Regions from separate parts of the Homo sapiens genome. Here regions 1, 2, 4 and 5 are each linked to region 3. The links are contacts of gene promoters, found by promoter capture Hi-C in human tissues and cell types (Jung and others, 2019). All regions are on one chromosome and are shown on one strand. The core of a region is centred on a gene start or on the middle of the fragment in contact, and the rest is flanking DNA. Distances in the headings are between cores, read along the strand shown.

What was found. Contacts are between HindIII fragments. The study calls those that stand out against the background at their distance.
Region 1: a fragment that was not itself captured here is called in contact with the fragment with the promoter of ANKRD29 in region 3 in 3 of the 25 tissues and cell types used here (H1 embryonic stem cells, IMR-90 fibroblasts and lymphoblastoid cells).
Region 2: a contact is called between a fragment that was not itself captured here and the fragment with the promoter of ANKRD29 in region 3, in 2 of the 25 tissues and cell types used here (dorsolateral prefrontal cortex and spleen).
Region 4: a contact is called between a fragment that was not itself captured here and the fragment with the promoter of ANKRD29 in region 3, in 2 of the 25 tissues and cell types used here (lymphoblastoid cells and thymus).
Region 5: a fragment that was not itself captured here is called in contact with the fragment with the promoter of ANKRD29 in region 3 in 3 of the 25 tissues and cell types used here (IMR-90 fibroblasts, aorta and pancreas).

Annotation. Positions count from the first base shown.
Region 1 is chr18:23,749,608-23,752,324 of GRCh38, reverse strand. It overlaps LAMA3 (laminin subunit alpha 3), which reads right to left. Exons shown (of 75, transcript NM_198129.4): 5 at 1,237-1,407. Among named protein-coding and RNA genes, the nearest start is that of LAMA3, 62 kb to the right of the region's middle. The HindIII fragment of the contact is 7,397 bases long and covers 1-2,717 here.
Region 2 is chr18:23,766,861-23,769,560 of GRCh38, reverse strand. The region is part of intron 8 of LAMA3 (laminin subunit alpha 3); the gene reads right to left. Among named protein-coding and RNA genes, the nearest start is that of LAMA3, 79 kb to the right of the region's middle. The HindIII fragment of the contact is 6,883 bases long and covers 1-2,700 here.
Region 3 is chr18:23,661,529-23,664,228 of GRCh38, reverse strand. It overlaps ANKRD29 (ankyrin repeat domain 29), which reads left to right and starts at 1,318. Exons shown (of 10, transcript NM_173505.4): 1 at 1,318-1,519. The coding sequence starts at 1,499. The HindIII fragment of the contact is 14,259 bases long and covers 1-2,700 here.
Region 4 is chr18:23,727,693-23,730,392 of GRCh38, reverse strand. All of the region lies in intron 2 of LAMA3 (laminin subunit alpha 3), which reads right to left. Among named protein-coding and RNA genes, the nearest start is that of LAMA3, 40 kb to the right of the region's middle. The HindIII fragment of the contact is 3,457 bases long and covers 1-2,700 here.
Region 5 is chr18:23,556,738-23,559,437 of GRCh38, reverse strand. NPC1 (NPC intracellular cholesterol transporter 1) reads left to right here. Exons shown (of 25, transcript NM_000271.5): 7 at 2,248-2,321. Among named protein-coding and RNA genes, the nearest start is that of NPC1, 28 kb to the left of the region's middle. The HindIII fragment of the contact is 8,970 bases long and covers 1-2,700 here.

The sequences.
Region 1 (2,717 bases), core at 206-2,705, 88 kb before region 3:
AAGAAAAAAAAAATTGGTAGGGTACATTTGTGGCAGTGCTCCAGGGCACATGGAGGAACAGAAACACAGCCCGGCTATAGTTTATGAGAAAGTCCAGCCCTCCCTTGTAAATATCCATCCTCAGATTCAACACAGTCCCCAACTACACAGAAGCTCAGAGGGAGCTGAGGAGAGCAAAAAAATACAAAAGATAGGCCACCTACACCCAAGGTGCCTGCCTTTCTGGAAAATGCTCAAAACTGTGGCAATACTTATACTTTTCCCTCCCTTCCTTTCCCAGCTCTCTGATGTTACCTATATAAAAAGCCAAACTCTATAAGGTGCACTGGGCATCTTCCATTCACCCTCCAGATCTGCTCTCCACGTTCTCCACCCTGTCCTGTGCCCAGGAGCTGAACTTTATGGTTGCAACCAATGGACTGTCTTTCTCTCTGGCTTCTTGTTTGCTTTGGCCAATGGAAGGCACCAGTAGATCAGAGGGTGGAAGAAGAGTGAGCTCAATGTGTTTATTCTGTGGGCTCCCTCTGTGCCCAGGAGACAAGTGTACTGCCCTGACACCTGAGAGTGAGAGATGTTCATGGTGTACCTCCAACACAGGAGAGGGTACTAGTGCTCACCAATACCTATGTGCCTCCATTTCAGCTAGATGACATCACCCAGCCTCCTTGCATCTAAGTGAGGCTATGATATGACCAGTTCTTGCCCATAGAAGTAACCTCTGATGAGAAGCAGGTAGATTTTTCTCTATACTCTCTCTTCCCTCATCTGAGGACCAAGAGGTAGGGGATCCAGAGGAGGACTCTGAGGTCCTACAAAATGGCTGCACCTCTGGATAGAAAGAACCTGCTTCCCTGAATTACTGTGTGGAGCCGATCCTACCTGCTGACCCATGTTAAACTGTAATAGGAGCAAGAAACAAAGCTTTATTTTGTTAAGCCACTGAGATTTGGGAATTGTTGGCTGTAGTATTAATTATCCCATCCAGACTAGTACCAGGCTGACTATAATCATTTGCCTTTCATCTTCTTTGAATATAATGATTTTTCTTCAAACAGCCATTTTTATAAGTCATTAGATATAAACTCCTAATTATATCTAGTATTTCAGATAAGAACAACTCCCACACCTACATCATTACAGGCTATAAAGGTTACTTAAAAGAGTTCAAGGCAATTAATTTGGTAAGCCAAAAAAATGAATAAATAAAGTAACAAAACAAATGCTCTGACTACTCACCCGCCGAGTGACAGTTGGATCTCGCTGGGCTTTGGAGATGAGGTGTCCAAGAAGCGTATTGGTTCTAAGAAAACGCAAGCGGATGTTTGTTGCCTTGGTAAACTCCCTCAGGGTGTGAGAGAAAGTAAAATTTTTTGCACCTGGACGACCGTTTATCAAGGACACCACAACCTAAAATGACCACACACACATAAAGGGGGAAAAAGTTCCTTTTATCAAAATTTAGCAGCAAGTAAGTAAAAATAACTCACATGCCCCAAGGCACTTGGTTTCTTTGAGCCATTTGATATTCGTAGGGGGTCTTGGGTCTTGTTTATGTCTAAAAACATCATTGCTAGTCCCATCTTCCCTCACACTTCCTGGTTCCAAGGTCTGGCAATACGTCTTTGAAATCTGGGCTCTCGGGAGATGTTATCATTACGTTTTCAAAGCCTTTGTTCTATCAGGGTAGTTGTGGGACTGTAACACTATGAAATGTTGAAAACATAATGTTAAAACCTGTAAATATAAGGACACAACTTTCTTAAGCTGCATCAAAGAAACAAAGCTAAAGTAACCCAAAAATCTACATGAGGTTGAAAAAAGGAAATCTCTAGATATAAAGTTTGACAGTAATGGGGCAAAAAAAAAAAAAAAAAAAAAAAAAAAAAAAAAAACTGTGTAAACCCTCCATTTTGTTTTAAAGCCCAAAGTGATGAAGCCCAAGTGTCAACCATTGGAAATATGAACCACTCATGAGCTGTCAGAAGATACCGCATACACATGCTCAAGTAAGATCTCTCTACTTAAAGAGAGGGAGGCTGACACCTTTGAAGGAAGTTTATTTGAAACTCAGTTCATATTCATTATGGCCTCACAATTTCCATGGAAATCTTCTCTGATTGTTTCACCTTTGTTTGCCCATCTCCCTTAACAATAGCCAACCTGACTTTACAAGGGCCAAATGCAACCCCACAGGGACAGCAATTTTTTCTCTCCAACAGATTACACCCATTCTACCAAAAGGGATCAGGGATCACGTAGGATCGGCTCCATGCAGTCATTCAGGGAAGCAGGCTCTTTCTATCTAGAGGTGCAGCCGTTCTGTAGGACCTCAGAGTCCTCCTCTGGATCCCCTACATCTGGTCATCAGATGAGGGAAGAGACAGTATAGAGAAAATCTACCTGCTGCCACCTGTCCTTCCTCTCCTCACTCTTACGGGGTATCATGGGATCATAGGTGAAGAGGTAAGGGGTCATCATTTCAGTTACCAGCAACCCACTTTATAAATACATCACCAGAAAGGACAGTTCAAGACCTGCGGGCTTTGGATCAAGAATCCTGACTTTCTGGGGATAACTGAAATCCCCCAACAGAATTTCCAACCTGGCTCATTCTGGGAGCCCTCAATGTGATTCCTTTACTGTTCAGTCCCAAGCCCTGTTTCCATCTTGATCTATGTTAGATGTCCTTGAAAGTGCAAGTTTCGCAATTATGAAAA
Region 2 (2,700 bases), core at 83-2,582, 110 kb before region 3:
TGTACCTCTTTGCATTATTTTGTCAGCAGTTGTTTTAGGGACTACAATATATATCCTTCACGTCTCACAGTCAAATTAGAGTTAATATTGTATTATTTTTTATGCTATTGTTGCATATGTATTATATTTACATGCATTTTATAAATACCATGAGACAATGTCATAAATTTTGTTGTAAGCGGCCCTACATACTCTAATTTTTTCCAGCTATATTGAAGTATTATTTACAAAATATTCTTTTATTTTCCTTTTCCATTATTTATTCTCTCCTCTAAAACATTTACAAATGGGATTGAGTAAAGGAAAATAATTACAGATCATTGTATTACCATAAAAGGGCAGAGATTTGGAAATAAAGAGGGGTTGGGAAGGTAGGTAGTTTCCTAAAATTCTTTTTCCAAAAAAAAAATTCAACTCTAATTTTAGATTCAGGGGGTACATGTACAGATTTGTTAGCTGGATATATTGCATGGCGCTCAGCTTTGGTGTATGATTGATCCTGCCACCCAGGTACTGAGCATAGTACCCAATAGTTAGTTTTTCGACCCTTGTCGCCCTTCTTCGCTCTCCCCTCTAGTAGTCCCCAGTGTCTATTGTTTCCACCTTTATGTCCATGAGTACCCAATGTTTAACTCCCACTTGAAAGTGAGAACGTGTGGCGTTTGGTTTTCCGGTTTTGCATTAATTTGCTTAGGATAATGACCTCCAGCTGCATCCATGCTGCTGCAAAGGGTATGATTTCATTCTTTTTTATGTCTGTGTAATATTCCATCATGTATATATACCACATTTTCTTTATCCAATCCACCACTGATAGGCACCAAGGTTGATTCCATGTCTTTGTTATTGTAAATAATGCTCCAATGAACATATGAGTGCATGTGACCTTTTGATGAAATAATTTATTTCTTTTGGATATATGCCAATTAATAGGATTACTGGGTTGAATGGTAGTTTTGTTTTCTTTGAGAAATCTCCAAACTGCTTTCCATAGTGGCTAAAATAATTTACATCCCCACCAGCAATGTATAAGTAAGTGTTCTCTTTTCTCTGCAACCTGAGCAGCATTTGTTGTTTTTTGACTTTTTAATAATAGCCATTCTAGCTGGTGTGAGATGATATCTCATTGTGGTTTTGACATGCATTTCTATGATGATTAGTGATATGGAGCATTTTTTCATACGTTTGTTGGCCACTTGTATGTCTTCTTCTGCAAAGTGTCTGTTCATGTCTTTTGCCCATTTTTTAATGGAGTTATTTGTTTTTTGCTTGCTGAACTATTTAAGTTCCTCATATATTCCGAATATTAGACCTTTGTTAGGTGCACAGTTTGCAAATATTTTCTCCCACTCTGTAGGCTGTCTGTTTACTCTGCTGATAGTTTTTTTTTTTTTTGTAGTATAGAAGCTCTTTAGTTTAATTAGGTCCCATTTGTCAATTTTTTGTTTTGTTGAAATTGCTTTTGAGAACTTAGCCATAAATTATTTCCGAAGGCCAATGTCCAGAATGGTGTTTCCTAGGTTTTCTTCTAGGATTCTTATAGTTTGAGGTCTTACATTTAAATCTTTAGTCCGTCTTGAGTTAATTATTGTATAATATATGGTGAAAGGTAGGGGTCCAGTTTCATTTTTCTGCACATGGAGAGACAACTATCTTAGCACCATTTATTGAATAGAAAGACCTTTCCTTGCCAGGCACGGTGGCTGACACCTGTAATCCCAGCACTTCGGGAGGCTGAAGCGGGTGGGTCACCTGAGGTCAGGAGTTTGAGACCAGCCTGGCCAACATGGTGAAACTCTGTTTCTACTAATAATGAAAAATTAGCCAGGCATGATGGCACACACCTGTAGTCCCAGCTACTTGGGAGGCTGAGGCAGGAGAATTACTGGAACCCGGGAGGCAGTGCAATAAGCCCAGATCGTGCCACTGCACTCCAGCCTGGGTGACAGAGCAAGACTCTGTCTAAAAAAAAAAAAAAAAAAGAAAAGAAAGAAAAAAGAAAAAAAGTCCTTTCCTCATTGCTTATTTTTGTTAACTTTGTTGAAGATCAGATGGCTGTAGGTGTGTGGCTTTATTTTTGAGTTCTGTATTCTGTATAGTTTGAAGTCAGGTAATGTTATGCCTCTGGCTTTGTTCTTTTTGCCTAGGGCTGCTTTGGCTATTTGGGCTCTTTTTTTGGTTTCTTCTGAATTTTAGAATAGTTTTTTATAGTTTTGTCAAAAATGACATAGATAGAAATAGCGTTGAATCTGTAGATTGCTTTGGGCAGTATGGCCACTGTAATGTTACTAATTCTTCCAATCCATGAGCATGGAATGTCTTTTCATTTGTTTTTGTCATCTATTATTTCTTTCAGTCAGTATTTTGTAGTTGTCCTTGTAGAGATCTTTCACCTCCTTGGTTAGATGTATTCCTAGATTTGGGCTTTTTTTATTGTTTGTTTTTTGCAGTTACTGTAAATGGGATTGTGTTCTTGATTTGGCTCTCAGCTTGAACATTATTGGTGCATAGAAATGCTACTGATCTTTGTATCCTGAAACTTTACTGAAGTTGTTTATCAGTTCCAGAAGCCTTCTGGAAGAGTCCTTAGGTTTTCTAAGTATAGAATCATATCATTAACAAAGAGAGATAGTTTGACTTTTTCTTTTGCTATTTGAATGTCTTCTATATCTTTCTCTTGACTGATTGCTCTGGCTAGGA
Region 3 (2,700 bases), core at 69-2,568:
AAAATGTTTAGAGTCCTTATTTTTAAAATTGGAATTTTCTATAAAAGTTCAGAATGTTTTTAATTTAAAGTTGTTTTAAGCACAAAGTAATACAATTTATCCATGAAGGTTAAACATTTTAATTTTTATCATTAACTTTTATTTGTAATTGTTTTCTACCTTTTAAATTAAATATTCGTTACAAATTTAATTGAGAAGAGGGAAGGAGGGGGAGAATGAATGAGTGGATTCTTATAGTTTGAGGGGGTAAGACCTCCATTTTTATACTATTTTTTTGTTTTGTTTTTATTTTTATTTTTGAGGCAGAGTCTTGCTCTGTTGCCCAGGCTGGAGTGCAGTGACCGAATCTTGGCTCACTGCAGCCTCAACCTCCCAGGTTCAAGCGATCCTCCCACCTCAGCCTCCCGAGTAGCTGGGACTACAGGTGCGCACCACCACGCCTGGCTAATTTTTGTATTTTTAGTAGAGATAGAGTTTTGCCATGTTGGCCAGTCTGATCTCGAACTCCTGGACTCAAGTGATCTGCCCGCCTTTGGCCTCCCAAAGAGTTGGGATTATAGGCGTGAGCCACTATGCCTGGGCTACTTTTTTACTTTCACTTTTCTAAAATGCTCTCAAAGAGCTGTTGTTGCCGTTTATACTTAAAACTCCCAGTTTTACTTCGCCCAAACCAATCCTGGGCAGGCAGCAGGAGTGGACACACATACTGCAATACTCCAGGGCTGCAGCATCAGACCCAGAGGAGGAGGGAACTGCTGGATTAATAACGCGGAGGAGGAGGAGGGGTATGAGTCTATTCCAAAATTGGCCTTTGCCCTTCAAAGAGGAAAAGACCACTTATTGTTTGTGCAATCAAAAGGTTTGTTTCCTAGATATTTTCCCCAGGAGAAAAAAGTTTCCCAGGAAACCGAGAAAGAAATTATAACGAAAATAGCTATTGGATGAATTTTTTCCTCAAGCTTCATTTTTACATCATTATAATATTTGTGCTGTAATGAAGGTTGGGAGTCCTCTGGGGCAGACCAGTCTATTTGGGAGGATATGTATGGAGTTTGTGTGTGAGTACATGCGGGTGAGTGGGCGTGAGTGTGGAAAGTATGTGTGTGGAACCTCTGTGTGTGTGGAATGTGGAGCGTATGCACAATGTGTGTGGAGTTTGGAGTGTGTGTGTGGACGAGTGAGTGTGGAAGTGTGGACGTGTGTGGAAAGTGCACAGTGCGTGCGGAGTTTGGGGTGTTTGTGCACGCGCGTGTGTGGCAGGTCCTGGAGCGCGTCCACGCGACACCCCATGTGTAGTGTGCGCGCGCGCGCGCCCCCGCGCCGCCCCTTCGGCCCGGCCCTGTGTGCGGCGGCTGCTGCCGGGCCGGGCGGCGGGAGCGCGCGGCGTCGGAGGCCGCCCCTCTGCGGAACGCCGAGAGCCCCGGGAGAGTGAAGGGCCGGGGAGGACAAGGCGCCCCGGGCCCAAAGCGCGCCGGCTCCCGCTCGGGCGGCCGCGGACATGTGCAGGATGTCCTTCAAGGTGAGCGACCGGGACTCCGGGGTCAGGGCTGGGGCCGGGCTCGGGCGGCCGGGCCCGCGGGGTCGGGTGGGGTGGGATGGGGTGGGATGGGGTGGGCGCTGCCCGCTGCCCGCCGCCTCCTCCTTCCTCTCTCCTCCAGCTGCGGGCGAGGCCCGGGAGGAAGCGGCGGGGCTGGGTGCGCCCTGTGGGTTTGCGGTTTGCCTGCCTGCCCTGCCTGAGAGGCTTCGCACTCATGGCTGTGGATCGGCTGAGTCTGTGCCCGGCGACGGGGCGGCGGGGACTGTCGCCGGGTAACAGGTCGGGGGCGGGTAAGAAGCCTGGGGTCAGCGCTGTCCTGCAGCAGAAGGAGTCCCCGACCCTGACCCTCTGGGTCCTCATGCAGGAGTACCAGCTGCACCCACGGATGCCTCCTCCCCGGAGGGGTGGCCAGCACCCAGGGAGGCTTCAGGGTCCAAAGGTGTCTTGTCTCAAAAGAGTTGATTAAAGTCATTCCATCTAATCCCCACATTTTAGGATGAAAGAGGTTGATTTGCCTCGATTGAAAGGGTTTAATAAAAATAGCAGTTAAAATGTATTAAACAGTTCAAATGTGCCTGACTCTGAACCAAGGACATGGTGTGTATGGTCTCAACCCTGGGGGAGACCTGTGGGAGGTGCTCTTCGTGGCTCTTTTTTTTTTTTTTTTCAAATGAGAAAACTAAGATATAGAGAAATTAACTCACCCACGGTTTTGCAGCCAATAAGTTATGGTGTTAAGACTGAAACCCAAGTGTGTCTGACTCCTAAGCCACTGTAATCCCGTTGCCGACAATAGCTCATGTAAGCAGAGGAGTGACATGGCGAGATGTGCATGTTGCAAAGATCTCTGGCTAGGTTTGGAGAAGAGGGTTGGAGCTGGAAGATGTTGTCATCTTTTTAAGAAATGGTACTGGACCAGTGCATAGGTGGTGAGAATGGAACGAAGCAGACGAATGTGAATGACTTTAAAGTTTTTTTTCCTGAGACGGAGTTTTGCTCTTGTTGCCCAGGCTGGAGTGCAATGGTGTGATCTCAGCTCACTGCAACTTCCGCCTCCCGGGTTCAAGCTATTTCTCCTTCCTTACCCTCCAGAGTAGCTGGGATTACAGGCGTGCGCCACCATGCCCAGCTAATTTTTTCGTATTTTTAGTAGAGACGGGGTT
Region 4 (2,700 bases), core at 154-2,653, 66 kb before region 3:
CGTCTCAAAAAAAAAAAAAAAAAAGAAAGAAAAAGAAAAAAAGACTGGGGAGGAGATTGAGGGCAGTGTATAAGGATGGAAAGAAAATGGCAATGTGAAATCACCAAAAATCAAAAACAAAAAAAAGGAGTAAAAGCAAAATTACAGATAGGGATGAAATGTTGGAACCTGTAATGAGGTTTGCACACAAAATAATGCAGGCCATGAAGCTGTGTCCACCTGCATGGTGGAGCCATACATTTGCCCCTATGCTTCTAGTAGCCAGCAAAAAGAGGGAAACTTAATCCCAGGGTCCATACATTTTTGTTTTATTTCGTTTTTTAATGTCCTAAAGAAGCACAACTATTCCGGGACTAAAGGGATTGTCCAAATGGATCTTTGCAGGGGAACACAGTGGGCAGTGATGAACAACATCATGACAGCATCCTGCGAGAGGGACAGCAATTATGACCAAACACCCACACGGGCCATGAGCATTCCAGCTAAGCCCAGCACAGACAGGACGGGAGCGTCACGTACATTGCCATCACACAGCGCCTAAGGCTGGCTCTGGTGCCAGACTTGGGGGAGCAAATCCCGGGTCTATCCCATACAACCCTGTGAGGCTATGAAACATCTCTGGGCTTCCCATTTCCCCTTCTAGAACGTGGGGACCCACCTCATAAGCTTGCAGTGAGGATTAAATGAGTTAATAATGGTAAAGTGCTTAGGTCAATTTCTAGCATGTGAATTATGTTAACAGTAAATTTATGTTATATCTGCCATATATATATATAATCATTTTTAAATTCTAAATGATTACCTTTTGAAGCAGATGTTGAAGAGTTTTCGAAGACTTACAAGATTATCTACCACAAAAGAGCAACATACTTTCTCCCTACCATCTATTTTTGAAATATTTAAATTAATACAATTAATACTCTAAATGACCAAAGATCCAACCTTTTCATTATGTCTTCAGTGTGTTCCAAGTTATAAAAGACAAATATTTTTACTATCTGTTGCATATGTATGGCTTTGGTATGTATATGAGGGACATATGAGAATAGGGCAGACATAAGTAAGGAAGTCTCTGTATCTTCATTCATTCATACACGAAGTATACATTTGCTGGATTATTTCTACATACCAGACATTCTCCTAGGTGGTGGGGATACAGAAAGGGACAGAATATTATTCTGTACTCCAGTCATAATTCAGTTGAGATCTCTCTGTCTCTCTCTCTCTCTACACACACAAACACACACACACACACACACACACACACACATACACACACAATACATCATATGCACTTTTTAAAAACTTCAGTATGGTCACCCCTCAATACTTTCCTTCATTCTTTTTTTTTTTTTTTTTTTTGAGACGGAGTCTTGCTCTGTTGCCCAGGCTGGAGTACAGCGGTACGATCTCCGCTCACTGCAACCTCTGCCTCCCGGGTTCAAGCGATTACCCCGTCTCAGCCTTCTGAGTAGCTGAGACTATAGGTGCGCACCACCACACCTAGCTAATTTTTGTATTTTTAGTAGAGACAGAGTTTCACCATGTTGGCCAGGCTGGTCTCGAACTCCTGACTTCAGGTGACCCGCCTGCCTCGGCCTCCCAAAGTGCTGGGATTACAGGAGTGAGCCACTGCACCAGCCGTTTCCCTTCATTCTTTAAAAGATGACAACTGGAGAGCTTTGGCAAATTTCAGCCAGTAGAAAAGCAAGTCAGAAGGCTGCGTGTCACTCATAGTCCCAGGGATAGACACTTCCTTCCTACTAGAAGGAAGTGATTGAGGAGAGCTTAATAAAGCACCTACAGCATTGACAAAGGCAGTGGCAGCAGGAGGGAAGCCTTCTGGTAATGGGGAAGCATCTCAGAGCTAAGAAGATCTGAGGACCTCTCCTACCCTGGGCTGAAGGGGAAGGAGAGGGAACAGATGCTGGATCCCAGACAGAGCTGGAGCCTTACAGTGAGTTGCCTGCCAGGAGCCAAGATCCTCCTTAGGATGAAACAGCTGGGATACTGCAGCCTATGGGCCAACAGAGGCAGCTGGGGGACCAAATGCCCCATTGTCCTTGCCCTCCTACCCCCTGAGCACCTGGGATACCTCCCCCCAGCCTGTTGCTGCTGTCCAGGAAGGTCACCAGCCTGGGTCACTGGGCACAGAACAGGCGTAAGTGGACAGATAGGAGGGAGACTATCTGGGTCACAAGAGGGCTTGGGCTGTTTAAAGTTTCAAATAATGAACAAATGTATCTTGAACTACATCACCAAATCTGAGCCAGAGGAGAGACTTGAGGTAGCAGAGAAGAGGAGGCCTTTTCAGGATGTATCTGAATAGCTCTGAAGCTCTGAAGAAAAGGTTCAGTAGGCCAGGCACCAGTGGCTCACAGCTGTAGTGCCAGCACTTTGGGAGGCCGAGGCAGGAGGATCACTTGAAGCCAGGAGTCCAAGACCAGCCTGAACAACATAGTGAGACCCTATCTCTACAAAAATAAAATAAAATCAATAGTGGGGTGTGGTGGCACGTGCCTGTGCTCCTAGCTACTGGGGTGGTTGAAGCAGGAGGATCACTTGAGCTCTGGAGTTCGAAGCTCCAGTGAGCTATGATCACGCCACTACATTCCAGCCTGGGCGACAGAGCAAGGTCCTATCTCAAAATAAAACAGAAAGAAAAGAAAAGTTACAATACATGGCCTAGAGCAGCACTAC
Region 5 (2,700 bases), core at 186-2,685, 100 kb after region 3:
TCCTTTTAGATATTTGCATCTTAATTTAGGACAGTACTTTTTTTACTTTTTATTTTGAAATAATTGTAGACTTAACCAAAAAGTTGCAAAATGGTAGAATTTATGTGTATCCTTAACCCAGTTTCCCCGATGATACAACTTACATAACTCATAGTACATCTAGAACTAGAAATACCATTTGACCCAGCCATCCCATTACTGGGTATATACCCAAAGGATTATAAATCATGCTGCTATAAAGACACATGCACACGTATGTTTATAGCGGCACTATTCACAATAGCAAAGACTTGGAACCAACCTAAATGTCCAACAACGATAGACTGGATTAAGAAAATGTGGCACATACACACCATGGAATACTCTGCAGCCATAAAAAATGATGAGTTCATGTCCTTTGTAGGGACTTGGATGAAACTGGAAACCATCATTCTCAGCAAAATATCGCAAGGACAAAAAACCAAACACCGCATGTTCTCACTCATAGGTGGGAATTGAACAATGAGAACACATGGACACAGGAAGGGGAACGTCACACACCGGGGACTGTTGTGGGGTGGGGGCCTGGGGGAGGGATAGCATTAGGAGATATACCTAATGCTAAATGACGAGTTAATGGGTACAACACATCAACATGGCACACGTACACATACGTAACAAACCTGCACGTTGTGCACATGCACCCTAAAACTTAAAGTATAATAATAATTAAAAAAAAAACTCATAGTACAATGATCAAAACCACGACCATGCCATTATTATTACATTATTATTAGCTAAACCAGAGATCTTAATCAGATTTCACCAGCTTTTTCTCTAATGCCCTTCCCTGTTTCAAGGTCCCATATTACATTTTTGTGTTTTATGAGTCCCCTCTAATCTGTGACAGAAAGTTCCTCAGTCTTTCCTTTTCTGGCCTTAACACTCTTGATGATACTGGTCAGGTATTTTGTAGCATGTCCTTCCATTTGGCTTTATCTGGTATTTTCTCATGATGAGATTGAAATAAGGTGTTTTGACAAGTACATCACAGAAGTCATGTTATGTCTTTCTCGGTGCATCATGTCAGGGATCCCTGATGTTGATGCGTCTCTTTCCTGGTGATGTTAACCTTGATCACTTGCTCAAGGTGATGTCTGCTGGCTATCTCCACTGTGAAGTTACTGCTTTTCCCTTCGTAATTGATAAATATCTTGGGGGAAGATGCTTTGAGACTATACTAATATTTTGTTCCTCCTGAAACTCAACCACTGATTTTAGCATTCATTGTTGGGTCTTGTCTGCAACAGTTATAACTAAGGTGTTTGCCTGATAGTGATTTTTTTCTCTTTCCCTCTCTTCCTCTGCATTTACTAACTGGACTTCTGTACAGAAAGCTATCCCTTCTCCCTCATTTATTTACTCAGTTATTTACATCATGGACTTTTAATTCTGTGGGTTGTATCCAACACTGTCATTTATCTTGTTACTCAAAGTTTTCCACTTTGGGCCATTGGGAGTGCCTTCTGGCTGGCTTCTGTGTTCTTACATACACCTCCCATCCCCAGCTTTATCTTACATATTCCCTGTCCCTGCCCTGCAAGGAGCTCTGGTTCCTTTTATTGGAGAATGGTATGTAGAAACGAAGATCTGGGCACTAGGTATGCTCATTGCTGCTGGAAAGAGTAGCATGTTTTTGTTTGTTTGTTTGTTTTTTTGAGATGGAGTCTTGCTCTGTCACCAGGCTGGAATGCAGTGGCGCGATCTCAGCTCACTGCAACCACCGCCTCCCTGGTTCAAGCAGTTCTCCTGCCTCAGCCTCCCAAGGCACGTGCCACCACACCCAGCTAACCTTTTTGTATTTTTAGTAGAGACAGGGTTTCACCATGTTGGCCAGGTTGGTCTCGATCTCTTGACCTCGTGATCCCGCCCACCTTGGCCTCCCAAAGTGCTGGGTTTACAGGCGTGAGCCACCGCGCCTAGCCCAGTAGTGTGTTTTTAAAGGACCTAAAAGTTTTAAATAAAATGAGGGCCACAAGGTGAAATTATCCTTTATTAATTGTTCTCTTAACATCTTCTTAAATTTTCTCCTGAGACTGGTGAGCAGAGGGACCCAGAGCAAGGGGACTTAGGGGAAAGAAGGCAGTAATTAGGGAGGAGGAGGCCAGGAGGAGGAAGAAAGCATTTCATGGGATTACAGGAATGTCCCAAAAACAACCTCACTGTGATGAAGTCCACTAATGCTATTTCTTCACTTCTGTTTTTCAGAAAACGGTATTTTGTCTCCGAGTACACTCCCATCGATAGCAATATAGCTTTTTCTGTTAATGCAAGTGACAAAGGTAGGCATATTTGTCCATGAATAAAAGGGTTCAGATGATGCTGTCTGTCATGAGAGCATTCGTTTCCTCAGTGGGGTTGCAGCAGTGGGTGAGGTGGTGTGCCAGTGCCGAGGACACGGCTGCGACCAAGGCAGACATGGTCCTTGCCTTTGTGGCCCTACCATCTAGTCAGGGTGGCACAGCAGAACCAAGTAATTAATCATAGCTGGGGAGGCGCGAAAGCAGCAGGACAAGAGTGGGAATAGCAGGGCAGGGTTGAACCTCACCCTTCAGAGGCTCCTGTGTCGGCATCTCCTCTGTGGGGTGGGAATAGCGCTCATTGAGGGCAGCCAACAAAGGTGGCTTTGCTGAGCAGATAGGTAGCTGAGGGCAGGGGTCT